Linked DNA regions of Homo sapiens: region 1 is linked to region 2. The links are contacts of gene promoters, found by promoter capture Hi-C in human tissues and cell types (Jung and others, 2019). All regions are on one chromosome and are shown on one strand. The core of a region is centred on a gene start or on the middle of the fragment in contact, and the rest is flanking DNA. Distances in the headings are between cores, read along the strand shown.

Region 1 (6,849 bases), core at 4,350-6,849, 340 kb after region 2:
TCATTATTTTTTATTCCAAATTGCATCTGTTCACTAAAATACTTCGGACTGGGTGCAGTGGCTTACACCTATAATCCCAGCACTTTGGGAGACTAGGCGGGCAGATCACTTGAGGTCAGGCATTCGAGACCAGCCTGGTCAACATGATGAAACCCTGTCTTTACTAAAAATACAAAAATTAGCCAGTCGTGGTGGCACATGCCTGTAATCCCAGCTACTCGGGAGGCTGAGGCAGGAGAATCGCTTGAACCTGGGAGGTGGAGGTTGCAGTGAGCCAAGATTGAGCCAGTGCACTCCGGCCTGGGTGACAGAGGGAGACTCCATCTCAAAAAAACCCAAACAAATATTTTATAAAATAGAAATAGAAAAATAATACAAATGAAAAGTCTATTAAGTATATATTTTTATTAAGCAATATTAAAATGACTGCAAGTAAGAGTTTATATAGCTATATGTACATGGATATTTATAGATGAGATTACGCTTACATTCTTGCCCACACCATCTTGGAAAATGTTAAGATAATATCGCCTTGACTGAAAAACATACAGCAAACATGGTCTCTTTGGCATTCTGTCATCCACATCTACAGGTGCCTGTAGCAATGTGTGGTACTATAATATAATGGTAATTGATGTTCCTAATTTGGGAGTGTGGAAAGATCCCCAAATGTCTTTTAAGTCATCAGAGAAAGATAAAATAATATTTGATACAGCTTTTCTTAAAATTTGAGATAATTTTAATGGCGAGTTATTTTATGGCCCTTTGTATCTTGAAAAATTGGGAAATCACATATGGTTTAAAAGCGAATTATCTTAATTGGAACATGCCATTAACTAGAAAACCCATTATTTCAGCTTGCACTCTAACAGACAATACGTGGAAAAGGAAACGCGGCCAGGGCAAAACATTTCCTCTTCTTATAAACCTTGAACTGAGTACGTCCCTCACCAATTATAGAGGGTCCCCTTGGGCCTCAGAACTTTCCACAAGCGTTGAGGTCTCTATGGCGATGCTCCCGGCTGCCGAGGCGGAAACACAGGTGATGAGGTGGCGGCAAGCACAGTGCAAAGAGAGAGAAGCAGCTTCGGCTGCAGCAAACCACGCAGGTCCTTCTTGATCATCTAGAACTGACCGCTCCGCCTTGCCAGGAGTCTGCAGAACCACGTGGCTAGCCTGCCTGAAGTTCTCACCTCTCCAGGAAGGCGGGGGGCTTCTAATGGCTGCAGCTGCGCTGGGGGCTGGGGGCTCCCGCTGGGACTCCACTTCCGTGGATGTCTAAGCTTCACCTTTCTTGCGCCCGCAGGGGCATGACTCAGGTGAAAGGGAGCCATTTTCTCAGACCCCTGGCCTCATGCAGCCCTTCAGCATCCCCGTGCAAATCACACTTCAGGGCAGCCGGAGGCGCCAGGGGAGGTAAGTCACTTCCGGAAGCTCTGCCGGTAGTGGGAATCTGGCTGAACAAGCAGTTGCAAGAAGAGGGGACATCTCGAGCTTGGGGAGTGAGTGTTTCCTTTTTCTCTGAGGATGCCCACTTGCCATGCCTCCCAGGGTACCCAGCAGGCTTCCCCAGTAGCACTCACATCACGGGGCTGCAGCCTTTCCTGTTGGCTCTATCCTCTAGGTTGCCAGTTCTTGGAGACTGGAGACCTTTTAAACTCACCTGTAGCTCCCCAGCACTGATCATAGCCCAGCCCATAGTTGGTGCTCAAGAATGATCTGTTGGTTGAATGAGGAATGAAGAAATTAGACCAGCATTTGGTCCCATTGGTGAAGCCCTGGAGTCACAGCCCTTGGATTCAAACCCAGCTCACCACTTAATCAGCCATATGACTGGGCAGGTCCCATTGGTGAAGCCCTGGAGTCACAGCCCTTGGATTCAAACCCAGCTCACCACTTAATCAGCCATATGACTGGGCAAGTCACTTAACTTCTCTGTTTGCCTCATCTCCTTATCTGTGAAATGCAGATAGTAAGAGCCCCTGCGTGTCTCAGCACAGTATACCACATCCTCTCTAAACTATACTGTTATACCGGGTATACGCTCTACACCTCCCTAAACTCTAGCCTTTTAGCTATTGTTATTACCCACCCTACTCTTCTCCTTAAAGGGGGAAGTGAGAGATTATTTTCAGGACCCGTTTTCTCCCCAGGGAAATGAAAAGCAAAGAAGCTGAAAGCCTCTAGTGACCTGCACCCCTTTTGCCTGCCCTAGGGTTGGGGCATGGGGCAGTCAATGTGGGAACCAAAATGGAGAGAAGAGTGATGCCTGAGGGTGTTGGACAAATGGGATACTAAAACCTTTTGTGCCAGGCGCGGTGGCTCACACCTGTAATCCCAGCACTTTGGGAGGCCGAGGTGAGTGGATCACCTGAGGTCAGGAGTTCGAGAGCAGCCTGGCCAACATGGTGAAACCCCGTCTCTACTAAAAATACAAAAATTAGCTGGGCATGGTGGTGGCGCGCCTGTAATCCCAGCTACTCAGGAGGCTGAGGCTGGAGAATTGCTTGAACCTGGGAGGAGGAGGTTGCAGTGAGCAGAGATTGTGCCATTGCACTCCAGCCTGGGCGACAAGAGCCAAACTCTGTCTCAAACAAAGAAAAACCTGTTGGGAGGGGTACATTTCAGAACCAGGTTCACTCACTATCTGGAAATATGCATGATTTATTATTGGCTCTAGTGGAGTTGGGAGCTGAGAATTGGAAAACATTAAAGATGGTAATGGTCATCATGTTACTCACTTCCATTATCACTTAACTGCACTCAGGGGTATTTGAGAGGGAGCATGAGGAGAGTGAGATACAGGAGTTTGGATAAGATGGGGGTTCAGGGAAGAAGGACCAGACAGACTACAGAGGAAAGAAAGGTGTTCTTCTCGCTAGACATGAACCAATTTTTTTGTGAACAGACAATTAAAATGAATTACTTTATGGCAAAAGATCAAATGACAAACATGCAAGCAAACAAGTTTTAGTGTCCCATACGTCACACAATTAACTAGATATAAAGGCAGTTGTGTTGTCATCAAAGCAAACTACTGTATCCCATTTTCATTTCTGAAATGCACAACTGAATTATTGCTATTTCCTCTTGCTGAACTTGATGAACTATGTTGACTTAACCTTATTTGCTGTTTCAAAATAAGTTGTTAAATAATGTTGTAATTAAAAAATAGAAGAGTAAAAATAATTACCAAGGGTCTCCTCTGTAACCAAAACGAATTACAGGGAAATATTAATATAGTGTACTTCATGTTTAGACATTCATTTCACATACACCCGTGAAATGAATGTCAGATGAATTATGAAGTTTTGATGAGCCACAGCATGTTTCTAAGGAATACTTCTTGCAAAAGTTTCAGTGCTGGAGGGAGAGGCTGCTGGCTTCTGTGGGGATCACACCCAGGTGAGTGTGTTCAGGCTGTTTGTAATTGAGTTTGCCTCAGGCTAAGCCAGAAGCTGCCTGTAGCCATGTGTCGTACTTGGGCTGGGTGGGAAAGTCAGTCCTATCTGCAGTGAAGAGAATAGAAGGTGGTGGATATTGCCTTGATTATGAATAAAACAGCTCAAGGTAATACACTGGTTAGAAGCGGACATGTATTACTGGCAGAAAAAGGAATCAATATGCTTTTTATCCATCTTCCTGACTAGAAAGCAAACTAGATCATACTTAAGTGCTTTGAGGTCCTTGGATGAAAGATGCTTGTAAATACAACAAAGTTAATTACAAGGCTGTTTATGGTCTGAGAAAACTGGAAACAACCTAATAATATTCAATAATAAGGAAATGGTTAAGGAAATATGGCATATCTAATTGATGGAACATTATGTAGCCAATAGGATTACAAAGAATTGTTAATGACATGGGAAAGTGCTTATTATGTTAAGTGAAAAAGATAAGATTAACAAAAAAATCTCAAATCATATCTAATGTGATCTCATTCTGTTTAAAACAATATAGGCCAGGTGCGGTGGATTATGCCTATAATCTCAGCACTTTGGGAGGCCGAGGCAGGTGGATCACCTGAGGTCAAGATTTCGAGACTAGCCTGGCCAACATGGTGAAAACCCGTTTCTACTAAAAACAAAAAAATTAGCTGGGCGTGGTAGCCGGCGCCTATAATCCCAGCTACTTGGGAGGCTGAGGCAGGAGAATTGCTTGAACCCGGGAAGCAGAGGTTGTAGTGAGCTGAGATCATGCCACTGCACTGCAGCCTGGATGACAGAGTGAGACTCCATCTCAAAAAAAAAAAAAAAAAAAAAAAGAAAAGAAAAAGAAAAACAAAACAGAAACAAAAAACAAAAAACAAAAAACCTAATATAGAGCAGGAGGGGATTAACCCAGCAAACCAAGTGCACAATCATTACCTTTAAGTGTTGTGGGTGAGTTTTTGTTCTCTTCTGTACATTTTTTTTTGTATTTTTCAAGTTTCATACAATGAGCATATAAAAATATATTACTTTCATGAATCATTTGACATTTGTTGAGGAATTCTTTGTGGCTAAGTTTGTAGTCAGGTCTTGAGAGGTGACAACGTGCTGGCAGCCCTTGCAGCCCTCGCTCGCTCTCCGCGCCTCCTCGGCCTTGGCGCCCACTCTGGCCGCGCCTGAGGAGCCCCTTTCTGGGCTGGCCAAGGCTAGAGCCGGCTCCCTCAGCTTGCAGGGAGGTGGGGAGGGAGAGGCGCGGGCGGGAACCCGGGCTGTGCGCGGAGCTTGCGGGCCAGTCCGAGTTCCAGGTGGGCGTGGACTCAGCGGGCCAGCACTCCGAGTGGCCGACCGGCCTACAAGCCACGGACAGTGAGGGGCTTAGCACCTGGGCCAGCAGCTGCTGTGCTCAATTTCTCACAGGGCCTTAGGTGCCTCCCCGCGGGGCAGGGCTTGGGACCTGCAGCCCGCCATACCTGAGCCTCCCCCCGCCTCCGTGGGCTCCTGTGCCGCCCGAGCCTCCCTGATGAGCGCTGCCCCCTGCTCCACGGCACCCAGTCCCATCCACCACTCAAGGTCTGAGGAGTGCGGGCACACGCACAGGACTGGCAGGCAGCTCCACCTGTGGCCCCGGTGCGGGATCCACTGGGTGAAGCCAGCTGGGCTCCTGAGTCTGGTGGGGACTTGGAGAACGTTTATGTTTAGCTAAGAGATTGTAAATACACCAATTGGTACTGTGTATCTAGCTCAAGGTTTATAAACACACCAATCAGCACCCTGTATCTAGCTCAGGGTTTGTGAATGCACCAATCGACACTGTATCTAGCTACTCTGGTGGGGACTTGGAAAACGTTTGTGTCCACACTCTGTATCTAGCTAATCTAGTGGGGATGTGGAGAACCTTTGTGTCTAGCTCAGGGATTGTAAACGCACCAATCAGCACCCTGTCAAAATGGGCCAATTAGCTCTCTGTAAAATGGACCAATCGGCTCTCTGTAAAATGGACCAATCAGCAGGATGTGGGTGGGGCCAGATAAGAGAATAAAAGTAGGCTGCCCCAGCCAGCAGTGGCAACCTGCTCAGGTCCCTTTCCACGCTGTGGAGGATTTGTTCCTTTGCTCTTTGCAATAAATCTTGGTACTGCTCGTTCTTTGGGTCCACGCTGCCTTTATGAGCTGTAACACTCACTGCGAAGGTCTGCAGCTTCACTCCTGAAGCCAGGGAGACCACGAACCCATCGGGAGGAATGAACAACTCCAGAGGCGCCGCCTTAAGAGCTATAACACTCACTGCGAAGGTCCGCGGCTTCATTCTTGAAGTCGGTGAGACCAAGAACCCACCAATTCCGGACACAGTTTCATAAATGTTCCATACATGCTTGAGAATAATATATATTCTGTAGAAGTGAGTATTCTATATTTATCATTTAGATAAAACTTGTTAATTGCTTTACTTAAATCTATTACCCTACTGGTTTGTTCAGGTCAAGCTATCTAAATTACTGGGGGAGTGTATAAAAATACATCATAATCTGATAGTGGATTTTGTCTATTTCTTCTTGTAGTTTAATCAGTGAAACAATGCTATCAGGTACCTACAAATTAGCATTGTTACATTTTCCGTGTGAATTGAGCCTTTAATCAGTGTTAAAACACTTATTTTTAAATTTCTAATAAAGCTTTTTAATTTTTAACATTCATGTTTGCTTTTTGTTACATTTTGCCTATAAATTTCACCCTTTTTGTATCTGTGTTTTAGATGTATCTTTTGTAAAAACATGCATATAGATAGTTCTCCATTTACAGTGGGATTACATCCTGACAAATCCATCATAAGTGGAAAATACTGTAAGTTGAAAACTTCAGAGTATTAGCTATTTACCCTCATGATTGTGTGGCAGACTGGGAACTATGGCTGGCTGCCACTGCCCAGCATCTCAAGAGAGTAGGGTACTGCATATCGCTAGCCCAGGAAATAATGCAAATTCAAAATTTGAGGTACAGTTTCTACTGAATTCATATTGCTTTCACACCATAGTAATGTAAAAAAATTGCAAGTGTGGGGCGGGGCGGGCCATGGGGCGGGCGGAGGCGCCCGAGCCCCGCTTCCCCCGCGCCATTCCACCCCCGGCCAGGCTCAGCCCGCGGCCACCTACGCCCCGCCCCTGCCGGCTGCGCCCGAGCCCAGTCCCGCGAGCCGCTCCCCGGCGGGCTGGCTCTTGGCCCCGGAAGCGCGAGCGTTCACTTCGCGGCGAGTGGCTCCGTCTCCGCGGACAGAGCGCGCGCCCCCTGGCCCGGCCCGCGGGGGGGGGCTCCGGCACGGTCCCCGAGCGTTTCCCGCCGGGTGGAGCGGGCCGAGCCCAGCAGGTTGACCAGCCCCGCGGCCACGCAGAGCCGGGAGATCTACTGTTTGAGCGCGGAAGCGC
Region 2 (5,994 bases), core at 1,345-3,844:
TTGAAAGCAGGTACACAGCTGAAAACACAGTAACCTTTAGTAAACATAGCTATTAGAACCTTCCCTGCTCTGATTGGAAAGGGCGCAGAACACGGTAATGATCCTTTGAGAACCCCAAGAAAGGGCAATAATGTGGAAAGAGAAACTGGGGGTGAAATTTTGCTGCAGTTTATCTCCAGCTGGATTTGATTGAATACTACCAGAGCGAGTATTTGAAGGATTTGTATTTGGCTATATGAGAATATCTGTAATCAGAAATGGCTTATAAAGGGATTTTCATCAAGGAATGTAGTTTTGTAACAAGTTCAAATTCCTGCTGGAAATTTGTTAAATACCACTGGTTCTTTGCATCATGTTTCCAGCAAATCCCTATGTATATTGCCTCATCCTGTGGAGTGGCATAATTCAAATTAAACTGGGAGAATAGGGGTAAAAAGAGAACAAGATATTTTGAGGCTGGAGACAACTTTCTGACTTTAAGTGTTTCACTTCCTCTTTACCTGCTTCTATTGCACAGGGCAAATAGCTTACAGTATATATCTAATGAAGAGGATTAAATAAATTAATACTTTAAACCCTTAAAATGATGCTTGAGGTCAGGTGGGGTGGCTCACGCCTGTGATCTCAGCACTCTGGGAGGCCAAGGCAGGTGGATCACGAGGTCAGGAGTTCGAGACCAGCCTAGCCAACATGATGAAACCCCATCTCTACTAAAAACACATAAAATTAGCCGGGCATGGAGGCGTGCAACTGTAATCCCAGCTACTCAAGAGGCTGAGGCAGGAGAATCGCCTGAACGCAGGAGGCAGAGGTTGCAGTGACCCAAGATCACGCCATTGCACTCCAGCCTGGGCAACAGAGCAAGACTCCGTCTTGAAAAAAATAAAAATAAAAAAGGATGCTTGACACGTAACAGGTGCTCAGTAAATGTTGGCTATTATTTAGTGACACATTATTTAATAATTGAGTCAGTTTCCTCATCTGTAAAATGAAAATAACATTGTAATTTCTTTGCAGAGTCTCTGAGATAATAAAGTACACTGAATATCAAGCATTTGATCTTTGCTATGATTATTCACACCGCCATGATGCAACTCACTGTCTCCAAGGAGGTCCAAATAGCCCTATTAAGACTGTATTGGTCAGGTGCAGTGGCTTACGCCTATAATCCCAGCACTTTGGGAGGCTGAGGTGGGCGGATCATTTGAGGTGAGGAGTTCGAGACCAGCCTGGCCAACATGGTGAAACCCCATCTCTACTAAATATACAAAAATTAGCCAGGCGTGGTGGTGTGCACCTGTAGCCTCAGCTACTGGGGAGGCTGAGGCGGGAGAATCGCTTGAACCCGGGGGGTGGAGATTGCAGTGAGCCAAGATGGTGCCACTGCACTCCAGCCTGGGTGACAGAGTGAGACTGTCTCAAAAGAAAAAAAAAAAAAGACTGTATTATGACTTTCCTGAGACCTAGGCACTTTTGCCTTCAAGGGCCCCTTCGTCTAAGTTATTAAAAATAATATTTTATGACTGCATTGGTATAAAACGAACATAATACAGGCTGGATTCGTTATCATATTCATAAACATTATGGTTTTTTTAAAAAAGAAATTTAAATTAAAAGACTTTCGTAGACCCCTAAAACTATCATGGGTTCAGGCAGGAGAATCGCTTGAACCCAGGAGGCGGAGGTTGCAGTGAGCCAAGATCGCGCCACTGCACTCCAGCCTGGGCAACAGAGTGAGACTCTGTCTCAAAAAACAAACAAACAAAACAAAACAAAACAAAAACCTCTCTTCCTCCCCAGTTCATCTGCATCTCATTATTGGGCGGCACGGTACTTACTGTGCCTAAAGAATAAGTTGGCCCTGAGCCTCTTTACCTGTCTACATATTACCTGTCTTCATATTCCTTAGCATAGGTGGGCTTCTCGGCAAGATGACTTTGCATCTGTGGGACTAGAACCTAGCCTTTGGGCAGGTGGAACGCAACAATAAGCTTGTGCCCTAGAGATACAGATCTCAGCTCTATACCTTTCTAGACTCAGCTTCATCCGCAAATTAGCATTAATTGGGATGGTGAATAACAACGTTTTAGAAATGCTAATAATGTAAACACGATCTATCTGGCTACTTCAGGAAAACCCCTCATATAGCTCGTGCTCCGTCTCTCCTGTCAAGCCCCAAGCCCACAACTTGTCCCGGCTCCCTCCGGATCCCACCAAGGTCACCCTGGAAGCGTCCTCCCTTTTCTCGCCCCGCACCCGCTTCACGCCCGTTCTCCCTAGGCCAGCACCCACCAGCAGCCTTCGGAAAGCCACGAGTGAGGAAGCCCCCAAATCCGAGGCGAGTGCCAAGGGGCCGGCCAGACAGAGCTGCCACCGCAGTAACCGAAACCCGCCGCAACAAACTCATGGCCGCCATGGCTACTACGGGCAGGAGGAAGAAGGGAGGCGGGTCACGGAAGCTGAGAGAGCCAATTTACCAATGAGGACAAAGGCAGGATGTGGCCATCTTAAGTGAGGGCAAGTTTTCTATTCTCCTCACCGCCGGCTTGAGACGCCGGAAGTGACGCTATCGTTGGCGGAAACGCGTTTTGCCAGTTATGCGAAAACATGGCTGCGGCCGGTTTGGCCCTTCTTTGTAGGAGAGTTTCATCCGCCCTGAAATCTTCCCGATCGTTAATAACTCCTCAGGTCCCTGCCTGCACAGGGTAAGTGATGTATAAAGTAGGTTTGCCCACCTCTCCAACTTTGGATCTTGTTTGGTTGCCGAGATGCCGAGATGCCGAGAACAACTCAAGAATGGAACGGCCGCCTGGATGGCAGAGCCGGAGCCCACTTTGGTGAGGAGTGAGTGACCTTGGAGAAGTCGCTCACCTCCGACATTTCTATTCCTTCCTCATTTTGTTGCTGCCTGCTGTGGACAAGACAGTATATGGGGTTTGTAGATGTCCAGCATTTGTTGAAGTAAATACATCTATAAGTACAGAAGCATCCTCTTGGGCTGGGTGAGGTGCGAAAAACTTTACCGAAGATGTTTTTGTTGTGATACTCAAGTCTGTGTCAAGTTTGGATGGATTAAAAAAGAAGAGATATTTGTATTTACAGGATGTGTTACAATGAAAGTAACTGGTAACTTAGTAACTTCTTTTATTTATTTATTTTTCTTGGTCCTGGATCCAGTGAAGTATCCATTTATTACATTGGTTGCCATGACTCTTTAGTCTCTATCCGGAACAATTTCTTTTTTTTTTTTTTCTTAATGTTGTTGACATTTTGATGAGATTAGCTTTTTAAGAATCTTATTCATTTGGATTTGTCTGATTGTTTCCTCATTATAAGATTTAGGCTAAATATTTTTGGTAGGGATACAACACTTGTGATAAACTTCATTATTTAGTTTCAAATCATCTCAGGTCGTTAACTATTTTTTAAAAACAGGATTTTTGAATTACTGCATAATAATTTATCATCCAGATGCACAGTAATTTTTAAACCATTCTTAGCTGCGTATTTACATAATTAAAAACTTGACATCCTATATAGTGCTTTAATAAACATCTTAATTTATAAATTCCCATCTATAATAATTTTTTCAGTTGAAACTTCTAGATGCAGAATTACTGAATTAAAGGAGGAAGTATTTGAGGCTCCTGATACATGTTGCAAAATTGTGAGGTTTTTTTGTTTTTGTTTTTTGAGACAGGGACTGACTCTGTCGCCCAGGCTGGAGTGCAATGGTGTGATCTCAGCTCACTGAAACCTCTGCCTCCCAGGCTCAAAGCGTCCTCCCACCTCAGCCTCCCGAGTAGTTGGGACTATAAGGCACGTGCTACTATGCCTGGCTAATTTTTGTATTTTTGTTAAAGATGAGGTTTTGCCATCTTGCCCAGGCTGGTCTTGAGCTCCTGGGCTCAAAGTGATCCTCCCACCTCGGCCTTCCAAATTTCTGGGATAACAGGTGTGAGCCACCGTGCCCAGCCCACATGTTGCAAAATTGACTGCTCTTTTTACCTGCGCTTGCACCCATTAGCAATGTAAGAAGGACCCAAAAATGTTACCTTAAAATATAATTGTGTAACTATGTTACCTCTGAAATTATAAGGTAGCAGCTTCTATAATGCAGTATTAACAATACTTTCTAAAGCATTTTCAAAATTTATTGTGGCCAAGCATGGTGGCTCATCCCTGTAATTCCAGCACTTTGGGAGGCCAAGGTGGGAGGATCACTTGAGCCCAGGAGTTCGAGACCAGCCTGGACAACATAGTGAGACCCAGTCTCTAAATAAGAAAAAAAAATTAATTCTTGTGCAGAAACCCTGAGTAGCTTTTTAAAATGTTATCGATGACAAAATGATTATGTTTATTATGATAATGTTTATTGCTTATAAAATCCAGATATTATAAAACTTTTACTTGTTTATGTGTGTTCAATTGCAGGTTTTTTCTTAGTTTGTTGCCTAAGAGTACACCAAATGTGACATCCTTTCACCAATATAGATTACTTCATACCACATTGTCAAGGAAAGGACTAGAAGAATTTTTTGATGACCCAAAAAACTGGGGGCAAGAAAAAGTAAAATCTGGTGAGATACTTGGATTTGTCAACATTAGATATATTTATGGAACCCCCCCCCCCGCCCCGCCCAACCATCGTTCTAGGATTATATATCCAGTTTAGGAATTATTTAGATGTTTCCTTTTTCAGTTTTCTTTGAGACTGTCTACTAGAGAAAATTAAAGGGACAATATAATAGTAGAGTTAATTGTTCCTTGGCAGATTGGCAAGATGGTTAGATAAGGAATAGGCTGAAATTATTAACTAAAGTAAGGTTTAGGGCTTATTTTAGATTTTATTTTTTAATGATAATTTAAAGTTTGTTTATTTATTTAGAGATGGAGTTTTGCTCTTGTTGCCCAGACTGGGGTGCAGTGGCACAATCTCAGCTCACCGCAGCCTCTGCCTCTCGGATTCCAGTGATTCTCCTGCCTCAGCCTCCTGAGTAGCTGGGATTACAGGCACGTGCCACCACGCCCGGCTAATTTTGTATTTTAAGTAGAGACAGGATTTCGCCATCTTGGTTAGGCTGGTCTTGAACTCCCAAACTCAGGTGATGCCCGCCGTCTTGGCCTCCCAAAGCGTTGGGAATACAGGTGTGAACCACCGCCCCAGTTAATTTATAATGACAAAGTATTTTGTCATTAGGGTGTGAAAATACGTTCTGTACTAATGCTAACATTTTTTGAATGCTATTGCCAGTCATGTTAATAGTATTTTCGTATGTTACCTAATTTATCTCTAATTACACATTGTTATATACTATAAAAAAGCTGTTATATATTTTACAGATAAAGAAACAGGTTTAGACAGGTTTAGAGAGCTTAAATAATTTGCCAAAGGGCACATGGCTAGAAATGTTATTTCATGTTATGTATTATTTTAATAGGAGCAGCATGGACCTGTCAGCAACTAAGGAACAAAAGTAATGAAGATTTACACAAACTTTGGTAAGTATACTAAGTACATTAACATCTAGACGTTTGAAGCCGTTATAGTGTAACAATGAGGTGAAAACAATCTATCTGATATAAGAAATTGAGTAAAGCGATTTCTTTTGTAGTACTATGGATGATAAATCTGATGTTTAAGATCATGAAAGATTTTATATGACAGAGGTTAGATTATGACAAATGTCACAATTCTCAAGTAGTTGGGAATTCAGAAATTTTACTGTAATTTACATTGGTCCTACTAACATGTTTATACTAGCAATTTCAGTTAATTAATAAAATGAAACAGAGAATAGTTGGTGGCTTTTGTTTTTTTCTTTGAGACAAGGTCTCGCTCTGTTGCCCAGGCTGGAGTGCAGTGGTACAGTAACGGCTTACTGCAGCCTTGACCTCCTGGGCTCAAGTGATCCCCCACCTCAGCCTCCTGAGTATCTGGGACCACAGGTATGCACCACCACACCCAGCTAATTTTTTTGCGTTTTATGGAGA

What was found. The method cuts DNA at HindIII sites, captures the fragments that hold promoters and counts their contacts. A contact is called where the count stands out against the background at its distance.
Region 1: a contact is called between a fragment that was not itself captured here and the fragment with the promoter of MRPL47 in region 2, in 1 of the 25 tissues and cell types used here (hippocampus).

What each region holds. Positions count from the first base shown.
Region 1 is chr3:179,261,216-179,268,064 of GRCh38, reverse strand. It overlaps a transcript of KCNMB3 not described here and the pseudogene LRRFIP1P1. Among named protein-coding and RNA genes, the nearest start is that of KCNMB3, 14 kb to the right of the region's middle. RefSeq lists an enhancer at 4,759-5,260 and a silencer at 6,451-6,849. The HindIII fragment of the contact is 3,811 bases long and covers 3,694-6,849 here.
Region 2 is chr3:179,601,238-179,607,231 of GRCh38, reverse strand. It overlaps MRPL47 (mitochondrial ribosomal protein L47), which reads left to right and starts at 2,594. Exons shown (of 7, transcript NM_020409.3): 1 at 2,594-2,705; 2 at 4,435-4,580; 3 at 5,442-5,502. The coding sequence starts at 2,608. It overlaps NDUFB5 (NADH:ubiquinone oxidoreductase subunit B5), which reads right to left and starts at 2,438. Exons shown (of 6, transcript NM_002492.4): 1 at 2,293-2,438. The coding sequence starts at 2,416. RefSeq lists enhancers at 1,853-1,942, 1,973-2,132, 1,571-2,437, 2,313-2,512, 2,438-3,304. The HindIII fragment of the contact is 10,904 bases long and covers 980-5,994 here.